Linked DNA regions of Homo sapiens: regions 1 and 2 are each linked to region 3. Evidence: promoter capture Hi-C in human tissues and cell types (Jung and others, 2019). All regions are on one chromosome and are shown on one strand. The core of a region is centred on a gene start or on the middle of the fragment in contact, and the rest is flanking DNA. Distances in the headings are between cores, read along the strand shown.

Region 1 (3,266 bases), core at 181-2,680, 47 kb after region 3:
CTCAATTCAACAAATACAACTAGAGAGAACTGGTAAAATCAATAAATCCCATCTACTAATTAAAAGAGAACATAAGAGAATCAGTAGGTAATGAAACACTGTAAGAGTGCTAACCGTGGAAAGAGACAAATTTTTAAACATACCAATAAGCTCTCTCTTTTCATCCTCCATTTCTTAAGAAAATTCTTGCACAGAAGTGCTTTGGTTTGCTGATACACGCTTTTCTGTTTCATATTCATTTAGCCTATTCGCTGAAGGAGAAAGTAATCATGGTGGAACACAACCTAGAAAAAAATAAGTGTAATAAGAAAAACCTTGATCATAGTGTTGAGGAAAATATTTACTACCTTTAAAAAGTGTAAACATGAATTTAAAATATTATTTCAATAATTTATGACTGTAAAATTTCACCTCAAATATTTCACCTTAAGCTTTTTAGGGGAGTGGGTGATGGTGGGAAGGCAGAGTGATTATTATCACAATTTTGCAATAACTTGGAGTACTGAAATGGAAAAGCTGTAATTCAACTTCAGAACCTATAATTTCACATTTTTGGCCTTGTATGAGAGAACTTTAAGTACATGAATAGAGTGATTAAATTAATTTCATCCTGTTAATAGCCATTTCTTGTTCTTTACATTGAAACAGAAATCTCAGAGCTAATCAAATTAACATCAAAAGTCTGATTACTTAAATTTGTCTGAATAATAAATTACATCCACTAGATACAACCTCAATAAAGTGTTTTCTTGTAATTTTACCTTCAGATTGAATCAACTTTTATGAAAAGAGATAGGTTGTAAATCATAATCCAGGCTCAAACTACTTGAAACTTGATTCTGAGATACAGGAAGAATAAAGCAATTTCTCTCAATTTTCTGAATTCAGAAGTCCCTGAATAACTAATGAAACTACAAAATTAGCTTTAAAAGAAGCAAAAATAAATCACACGGGAAAGTAATTTTGCCCAAAGATTTGCAAATCAAGAAACACAATTTTTTTCGTTTCTGTAACCTCAAAATGAAATTCTTTCATATTTTTACATCAAAATATTCAGATAATTCTCCCTCAGCTAGCACAGAAGCAAATTTTTTCCATTTTTCTATGTCTTACTGTTACAATCTACACAATAAAAAGTGGTTGGGAAAAAGCAGAAAAATTTAGTCTTAGGTCTTTAACATAAAACACATAAGAATTGGGAAACATCTGAAAAATAGATTGATTTTAGCAGTGTCCACCCACATATTTGGCACAGCACAACAAAATAGAGCTTTACTTACTGTCAGGAAAATAATAAAAAGCACTCTAGAAACACTGTCAAAACCAGTTCTCTGTTTGTCTAGGTAACGATTACAACTTCTTTATTGCTGCTTCTTCATTTTTTCTTTAAATGGGTGCCTACTCCAGCAGCTCTTACACAGCCTGGTTTCTGAAAAGGGGTGTAGCCAGACCAAGCTGTACATGATGAACTTGTTTTGTTTTCTGTGTCTCTTTCTCCCTAAGCCAATTATTCTGCAAGGAAATGACTGTTCCGTGGTTGGTTGGGAATAAAATAAACTCTGTGTTTGTTCACTTAGCCTTTCAACTACAGGGATAAGGGGGAAAACGGTAAACAAGGAAAATGGAACTAGTTCTTCAGAAATGATGAGACCAAGATGGAGGCAGGAACAAGAAAGAGTAAAAACAATAACTAACCAAACAAAGCAGTTAAATTTGTATAAGAAATCTGTATCTATTTTCTTTTCACTACTGATGAATAAACACAACTGCCAGTTAGTTGTATATTTAACTAATTCAGACTAAGTTAGCAGAGTATTCTGGAGCTGATTTTTTTTCCTAATAAAGCTAAGCAATCCATAGTACGCCTTGGAGAAACTCCTAGGACAGACAAATGAAGAATTTTTAACAAATTTGTTGCTCCCACCCTCTTCACAGTGGATACAGGATTTCATAATACTTATGAACAAAATAAGCCAGTGGTTTGCCCAGGTCTACAAAACATATAAAAAGATTCAGATAAATTTTTGTGCACGAAGACTACAACAAACTGAAACATGTTTAATTCATATAGCATAGTCTGTCTCTCTCTGCTCTGTAAAGAGTTGCAAACTTTTCTTGACCTGCCACAGTGAATGGCAAAACAGGAAATCAAAGTCCATGAATTGGGAAATCTCAAATATTTGACACGGCTCCCAATCCACAGATGTTAATAATCATAAAGCTGAGAAACTTTCTGGAGCAAAGCAGATAATTTAAACAACAATGACAACTACAGCCATGATACTATTATGTGTATATGTGTGTGCCTGTGTGTATATATATAAAATGTATATATATATAATGTATACATATGTGTATATATATAATGTGTGTGTGTGTGTGTGTGTGTGTATATATATATATATAAAATTTCTCTCCTTGGCAATTACTTCTGTTTTTAAAAATAGTCAACAGTGAAATGCCACTTTTTTTACATTGAAAATTGGCACAAACACCGTTAATAAAGGTGTTCTAAAGTTCTCATGGGGTGTGGGAAGGGAGGTCATAAACACTTAACATTTTGTAATAGTAATATAACAAAACTCAAAGTTACTTTTAAACCACCTGGAATACAGTTAAGGCTTTTATGAATTTTTTTGTTGTTATCATTGTTTTAGACCCTTTATACTTTATTTTAGGAATCATTTTCATTCTGCCATTCTTATAATTGTATTAAAATTCACAGCTACAATATCAATGATAATTATTTAGATTAAATATATTTATTAGTTTCATTTCTTACCATTGTTTCTTGTGTATGCTTTCTTTTCCTTTTTCTTGACCTGTTTCCTCTTACTTATTTTCATTTTGGGAGGCTGTTTTCCTTACGTAATGTGACAATTTCCCCACAAATGGTGATCTAATATACTAAAGTGCCCAGCCTCCAGCTAGAAGGGCATGGAAGTGGTGGGTAAAATATATCCCCAAATTGAATTTCCAATATATAGTCAAATTCAAAAAAGGAAGAAAAAAGATGAAGAATGTAAACAACAATGGAAGAAACAAAAAAAGACAGAAAGACATGTTTCCAGGTGTTAAAACTGAAAAGGAATTTAAAGTTTCCCTTAAGTTGTGAGTGGCATTTCAGACACTCCATCAGTTCAAGGATATACTGGACTGAAAACCAAGCCTCAGGTGTTTTAATGACCCTCTGGCCTGAACTTGGTCCTTGAAAGGTTGGTAAGCTGGAGTTCATATTCCTGCAGGAATCCAGAGGGTTTATAGGA
Region 2 (3,332 bases), core at 210-2,709, 34 kb before region 3:
GAAGACCATGAACCAAAGAATGCAAGAAACCTCTAGAAGCTACACAGGGTAAGAAAACAGATTCTCCCCTACAGCCCCCAGAAAGAGACACAGCCTAGCCAACCCCTTGATGTTAGCCGAGTGAGAACCACATCACACTTCTAACCCCCAGAGCTGTAAGATGATAACTCTGTTTTGTTCTAAACCATTAAGTTTGTGGTCATTTTTTTTTTTTTTACAGCAGCAATAGAAAGTTAACATGGGGGCAGGGTTGGGGGAAGGAGTCCGAGAGCCTGAGGCCTGAGAACAAGACAGGAAGACATTGCTGGACATTTATTTTATGACGTGCCTCATCAGCAGAACAAAGAAGGGCATGGACTTATGTTTAAAAACTGTCCAGAAGTGACCAAAGAAATTCACCAGTGATGCAGATGAGCTCCTAATAATCATGCCATCGGAGCAGGCTGTGATAGCCTGGAAATCCTGCCTGAAACCAAACTGCAACATTTCCAACTAAGAAATCAAGCGGTGATAAACCTCAGTATCTGAAAGGGTTAAATATTGTGCCCACGTGACTACTGTTCTTTCTTTCTGTGAATTAATGTGTGTGCCAGAAAATATTTGTGAATAAAAAACAATTACATAATCTCATTGTCATGAATGTGGTTATTTATCTCTGAGCGTTAAGACTGATTTTTCCCCCCACTGAACATCTTAGTGTAAATATCAGAGAAAAAATATACTACCCACCGTAATAATATAAAACATCTAATTAGCTTAAATTGTTCTGAATAGGAAATTGTATAATTTAGAAATAATAAATTGGTTATAAAAAGCCAATCATTTCCCAGTCAGATAAAATTCCTGTTATTCACAGAACAAATTTTTCTAATTTGTTGCACTGGGCAACAAATTAGATCAAAATTTTAAAATAGTTACTATAATAAACAAGATCAATAAAAATCTTTCCTTAAGTTTTCTTGATGAAAATATTCTCAAGCCATTTAAAAACAATTCAAAACTCAGAAAATTATGCATCCTGCAATGCTTACAATTCCTCTGGCAGTAAAATTAAAAACAAACAAAGAAGAGTAAGTAATTCAAATAAATTTGGAAATAGTTCATACTTGTAAAGAAGCAACATAACGTGACATTTCTTTTGATTTATTCAATAGCCTATTAGATAATGTATGCTATTTGTCCAAAAATGTTTTAGTTACGGGGTAAAAATTTAAATTCTTAGTTCTTCATTTGGTTATTTAGACATACAAAATAAAATAGATGATTTAAAAAGTCAAAATGACTCGTTAATAACTTACTGCTTTTAATGGTTTCTACCTAAACGTCTGGCATGCCTATTTATAGTCTTATGTTATATTTCTATATGCAAAATAACCACAATTTTAGAGGTTAACTTACTCTCAGGAAAGCTGGAGGAAAAATCTAGAAACACAGTTCATCCATGGGTCTCTGCATGTTCTGGAGGAGAATTCACATTCCTTTTGGGTCACTACTACATCATGCTTTTAATTTCACATTCATTGTGAATAGTTCTGTTTTATACAAATTTCCCAGGAGAATCTGGTCTCAGTTCAGCTAGCCTGCCAAAATATCTTCTGCTCACGTGGTGATTTCTTTGCTGTTTTCCATTTCTTTGTTTCCTGCTAGTTACTCAGCAGGGAGTTTGTAGTTGCAGATGGTTGGCTGGACATATCAAAACATTAGGAACTATCAAACCAAGGAGAATCTAGCCTTTCTCAATCGGTCTTTTCATACAAGGCCCTAATGGGAGAGTTGACCCCAACACAATGATTTAAACAAAGATAAGTAAGAAGCCAATCCAGAGAAGAGTAGAGCAGAACAAAGTGAAAAATACATAAATATATATGTTATATATATATATATTTTAAGTGACAAGTAAATACATACAAATTGGGTTAGAAACTATTTAAAACCTTCAACAGATTCTTAAAACTTGAATCCAGAAATACGGCAATAAAGCAATGTAATTTTCTTCAGGGTAACAAAAGAAACTCTGAGTTTCCATCTGCATCTCAGTTTCATTGTGTGCATACTAATTGTAGCATCTTTCATCTTTCATGGTACTGAAGCGAGCAGAATCTTTAGAGAAATCTCACATAACAATTACCTGTGCTCTCAAAGCCTCCAGGCTTGTCATCTCTGCAACGGTTCCCATGAAACAAACTACTTTCTCCACCAGTAACTACTGAATTTTAGTATGTCCTGCTTTCCAGTATTGTTAGAGAAACATTTTTAACTGGTAATAGATGCCATTCTGTCTATTTTTGAGCATCTTATGTAAGTAGAAGAAAAGACTGTTCCAAAATTCTTATAATTCATGGAGTTCATCTTTGGCTGAAGAAGAGGGGGGAAAGGACCACTATCATTCTGCTTACAGCCAGTAAGTCTGTTAAATTCTTCAGTACTGTAATTTCTTCCTGAACATACAGCTGAAAGGGAAACAATAAATGCATGCAATTCTTAAATCAGCCTCTTATCTGTGTCTCATGGACCATGATAACCAAATGAAATCTTCCTTACCCATTTCCCATTCTCTCAATATTGATTCAATTATATTTATCCTTTTTCTAATTATATGCGATCCAGAAGTTGCTCAGCAAGCAGTCTGTGGAAGTAGGCTGAACTCCTGAATCCATGAGACTGTCAAACTTAAAAAAAAAAAAAAAGACTTCTGATTGTTTCCATATGTCTACAGAAAAGGTTATAGGTTGGTTGATTTTCTGCAGAAAATACAAAATTATCACATTCAATACATTTAATAACATCGCCAACATTTTGTGCACAGAGAATATAATTTAGGAAATTTTTTTTCAGTAACTTGTTTCCTAGAAGAACTTTGTACCTAGGTTAGAGCTTATGAGTTCTGGACCTAGTTGATTTTGACTTTCGGTTCTAAATTCTGTTTTCAATGTTTCCTTCAGTGTACCACACTGTAATCTCTGTGGCACTATAACAGAGCAAGCTCCCTCTCATTGATCTTCTTTTTAATATTTTCTAGATTAAACAATATTTAATATTTATTTATTTATTTATTTATTTTGAGACGGAGTTTCCCTCTGTCACCCAGGCTGGAGTGCAGTGGCACAATCTCGGCTCAATGGAACCTCTGCCTCCCAGGTTCAAGCGATTCTCCTGCCTCAGCCTCCACAGTAGCTGGGACTACAGGCACCTGCCACCACGGCCAGCTAATTTTTGTGTGTTTTTAGTAGAGAAGGGGTTTCACCATTTTGGTCAAGCTGGTCTGGAACTCCTGACCTCAAATGATGCACCCACCTTGGCCCCACAAAGTGCTGGGATTACAGGCAGAAGCC
Region 3 (3,622 bases), core at 1,113-3,612:
CAACTGCATTGAATATCAACATACTATACCTTCTGACATATGATCCTGTGAGGAGTAAACAAATTGCCTTAGTCCTAGGACTAGCATCGTTTAAGTTGATACTAGCTGTACAATGATAAATTCTCACAACATATATTTTCAACACATATTTAGAAATAAATTATAAGTTATTTGTATGCAAATGCAAATTTTAGTGCAAACTGCTTGAGGTCTTTGTGAAGAGGTATAATTTTAAAACTTTTTAGCCTACTGAAATCAAGATGTGTTCATCAGCACAAGTTCTGAATCAGTATTGCCAACCATGCTACTGTCTCATATTTTTTAACATGAGGAATGACATAAGGTCTGAGACTTCAAGTTTATTCCTGAGCCTGTCACTACTTTTTGTGTTTTTCTGAGCAAGTTACTAAATTTTTTCCTCTATTGAAGTAGGAAATTAAGAAAATAACAGAATAATGGCATAAGTAATAATAGTGAAAATTATAGTAACAGAAAAATAACAATAGCTCATAGAATGAATTGCTGTATTAACCAAGGCTGAAAAGAATTTAAGTTGCGCACCCCCACCTCCGCCGAAGTTAAAGTTAAAAGAGAATACTAACTGTCCCAAGAAACATTAACCATATCTACTTCCCACATATTCTGTAAGTTCTGTAAGTCCCTGTTTTTCTTGCTGTGCAGCTGCAAGGTCACAAGATAAGTAAGTGAAAGTTAAATTGCAACTCATATTTTTCCTAAGATGCAAGTCATGGCATAAATGATAAACAGCCTTTGTTCTCACTTCTGCAAACCTGCTTCCTGCTTCAAGTTTTTCCCGCCCCAAAATGCTTAAAAGTTGCTCGCTTTCTTTGTTAGGGGCTCAGACTTTCAGGACACATGTCTGCTGAGCCGATATACACCTAAAATAAAAGCTCTCCTGTATCCCGATCGGTCTCTCTAGTTCCTTAATTTCCTGCAACACTATAAAATTTGGTAAATCATACTAGACAATTTTGAATTTCTTTCAAGTCTGACATTCCACCATTCTAGAAATATGTAGATTCCTTTCAGTGATAGAAAAATGAAATAAATAAATATACTGAAATAGATAAGCATAAGAAGGGCAAAGGAAAAACAATCAGAAATTACAAATATATAAATACATATTTTACTATTACACTGCGGTGTAATTTTGTTTTTATATTTTGAACAGTCTTTGTTTTCCAAAACGTACCTTGCCTCTGGAATATTGTCTTGCCTTATTTGAATCCATAACAACTTAAGCATAAATGGCAGCAAAGGATAAAAGGCATGCAATCATACGTGTATGTGTTTTGATTTTAAAAATACAGTGTTTCTCAGTGTCATGTCTGATTTTCTGCTGTGATCTTTTATTTGTGATAATTTTTTCAAATCACAGTGAGAACACCTTAATCACCATGTTAGTTCACAAGCCTAAGAAGTGGTTCTGCATTATCATCTTTCCTTAGAAAGAACAAAGTCAAATTTCTTCTTTTGTTCATCTATTCACTTGCTGCCGTATATACAAGGGGCATTCATAATATGATAATGCAGATTCTGTCTTCTGCCATTTTTTGAAGGAAAGTTCCTCTCACTGGACTCTCACTCCTTACTCCACAATGGGAAAATGGTTTCTGCTCTCTAAGCCTAGAGATGAAACTTATTGTTTTGGAAGATTCTGGCCTATTAAGTTCTAGAAGTTCTGTCACAGTCTATGGAATTGATGCACAGATTTGAAATCCTGGAACTTGGCTGAGAAAATCTTGTCTATAATGTTTTCCAACCCAAAGCATCACTATGGAGCCTGCAGCCATGAGGAAATTAAACCTGCTCAGCTTCTCCACTAAAAGCTAAAAGGCAAGGGCTGAGGTATGTTTCTATCACTGATGCTGAATGCTCTCTTGTCTGAGAAATTTCCAGCTCTATACAAACTGGGATAAGTTGTGAGTATACGGTAAGCCAGGGGCAACTATTTCATGAGGCACATAGCAAAAAATGTGTCCATCTAGATGTGCATTTGTTCCAGTTTGGAATGATTTCTGTGTAATAAGGGTCAACACAAGGAGTGGCAAAAGCCACAAAAGGAAGCTTGATTCCAGCATGCTGTTTACTTAGGACTGAAGGACAAGCTGCTGAAAAAGCATCTATGAGGGGCACTCACTAGGGCATCTGCAGCATCACTCAGGCTGGCAGGAGCAGACCCATGCGCAACCACGCTGGACAATAACCCTGACATTTCTTGGCTATCACCTCCAAGGTAGACTTCGTTCAGAGCTAAAACTACTGGCAAACACTAAGAATGAATGTGAATTCTTTGTTCACCTTTGCTAGACAGATACAAGAGTGCTGACTGAAAAGAAACCAACCAAGTGTCAGTAAGACTCTCTTCTACAGACATCTGATCTAGCACCTGAGATTACACTGGACAATGGCAGTAAGTCTGTTGACTGAACAAAAAATAGTCTCCATGGAAAGGATAAATGGAAAGACCTTTTGTGCACCAGATCCTCATGGCTGCCTCAAAGCCAGTTTTTCCGAGTAAGGTGAGCCTAATGTTCTTTCTGTAGCCTCTGTACTTCCACTGGATTGTGCTGATGGTGGTAAGAGATATAGTTATAGACACTGTTTGCTGAATACAAAGAAATATAGCCCAGAGAAGTCAAACCCAAGTGCTGTCCACTGAGAAGGAACAACAGCTACCTGCTGGCCAAAAGAGTCCCAGACTAATTTCTTGTAGAAGTCAGTGGGTCGTATAGGTTGGTGCAAAAGTAATTGCGGTTTTGACATTACTTTAAATAGCAAAAAAAACGCAATTGCTCTTGCACCAACCTAATATTAAATATATCATTTCTTATAGATGATCTTTGGTTGGGTTCTTCTCATGGATTCAAGATTCCCATTCCAAGAGTTGAGAGCTGTTTTCCAGACAGACATTCAATCACCAGTTGAGGATATCAGTTAAAGGAGGCCTGAAGTGTAGGACTCAGGGCACTCTGGTGTCTCTAGAATTTCAGCAAACATTTCCAGCAAAGTTTTCCATGATTTTGGACAAGCTCTTTACTTTTATACTAACAAGTAACCTGGCATAAGTATAAAACATCTTTAGTATCTGAAACTATTAGCAGCTAAGGTTAAGAGAGACCTTCTTGAAGACTGTAGAGATGGGTTGTAATGTCAACTGTTAGGAAGCCAATTTTCTAGTGTTGGCAGGAAGCCCTGTATTCTGGAGACATAAACTCAACAGGACGTTTCAGACGTCAGGTCTTCTGTAAGATTCTCCATAAATTCTGTTCAATGGGTAGCACCTGATTTCTTTAGAAATATTATTGATTCAGTAACAGTGTTACACTTCCCTCTCTTTTCTATGGTGTAATTTTGAAGTATTAATTTTCCCTACTGTCTTAAGGCAGACATCTGTATTTAAGATTACATTAGAAGTTTAAAAAATAACACTATTTCTCTATTTGTATGTATTATATACTTACAAAAAAGAAGTAAAATGACCAAAGGCCACTGTTTTTTCTCCTTTTGCGAAAAATAAATGATATCATATATATGAAGAAGACAAGAGAAGCTGCATAACCAGGAGTAACTATAACCTGAGCATAAAAGAAATAATAAC

The links. The method cuts DNA at HindIII sites, captures the fragments that hold promoters and counts their contacts. A contact is called where the count stands out against the background at its distance.
Region 1: a contact is called between the fragment with the promoter of ABCA6 here and a fragment that was not itself captured in region 3, in 1 of the 25 tissues and cell types used here (H1 embryonic stem cells).
Region 2: the fragment with the promoter of ABCA9 here is called in contact with a fragment that was not itself captured in region 3 in 2 of the 25 tissues and cell types used here (aorta and pancreas).

What each region holds. Positions count from the first base shown.
Region 1 is chr17:69,140,465-69,143,730 of GRCh38, forward strand. ABCA6 (ATP binding cassette subfamily A member 6) reads right to left here and starts at 1,431. Exons shown (of 39, transcript NM_080284.3): 1 at 1,281-1,431; 2 at 144-284. The coding sequence starts at 239. RefSeq lists a silencer at 1,324-1,618. The HindIII fragment of the contact is 16,221 bases long and covers 1-3,266 here.
Region 2 is chr17:69,059,468-69,062,799 of GRCh38, forward strand. It overlaps ABCA9 (ATP binding cassette subfamily A member 9), which reads right to left and starts at 1,460. Exons shown (of 39, transcript NM_080283.4): 1 at 1,399-1,460. LOC124904051 (a long non-coding RNA gene) reads left to right here. Exons shown (of 2, transcript XR_007065889.1): 1 at 1-48; 2 at 221-625. The HindIII fragment of the contact is 8,506 bases long and covers 1-3,332 here.
Region 3 is chr17:69,092,755-69,096,376 of GRCh38, forward strand. It overlaps ABCA6 (ATP binding cassette subfamily A member 6), which reads right to left. Exons shown (of 39, transcript NM_080284.3): 25 at 3,486-3,599. It also overlaps the pseudogene SEC24AP1. Among named protein-coding and RNA genes, the nearest start is that of MIR4524B, 5.0 kb to the right of the region's middle. The HindIII fragment of the contact is 8,648 bases long and covers 1-3,622 here.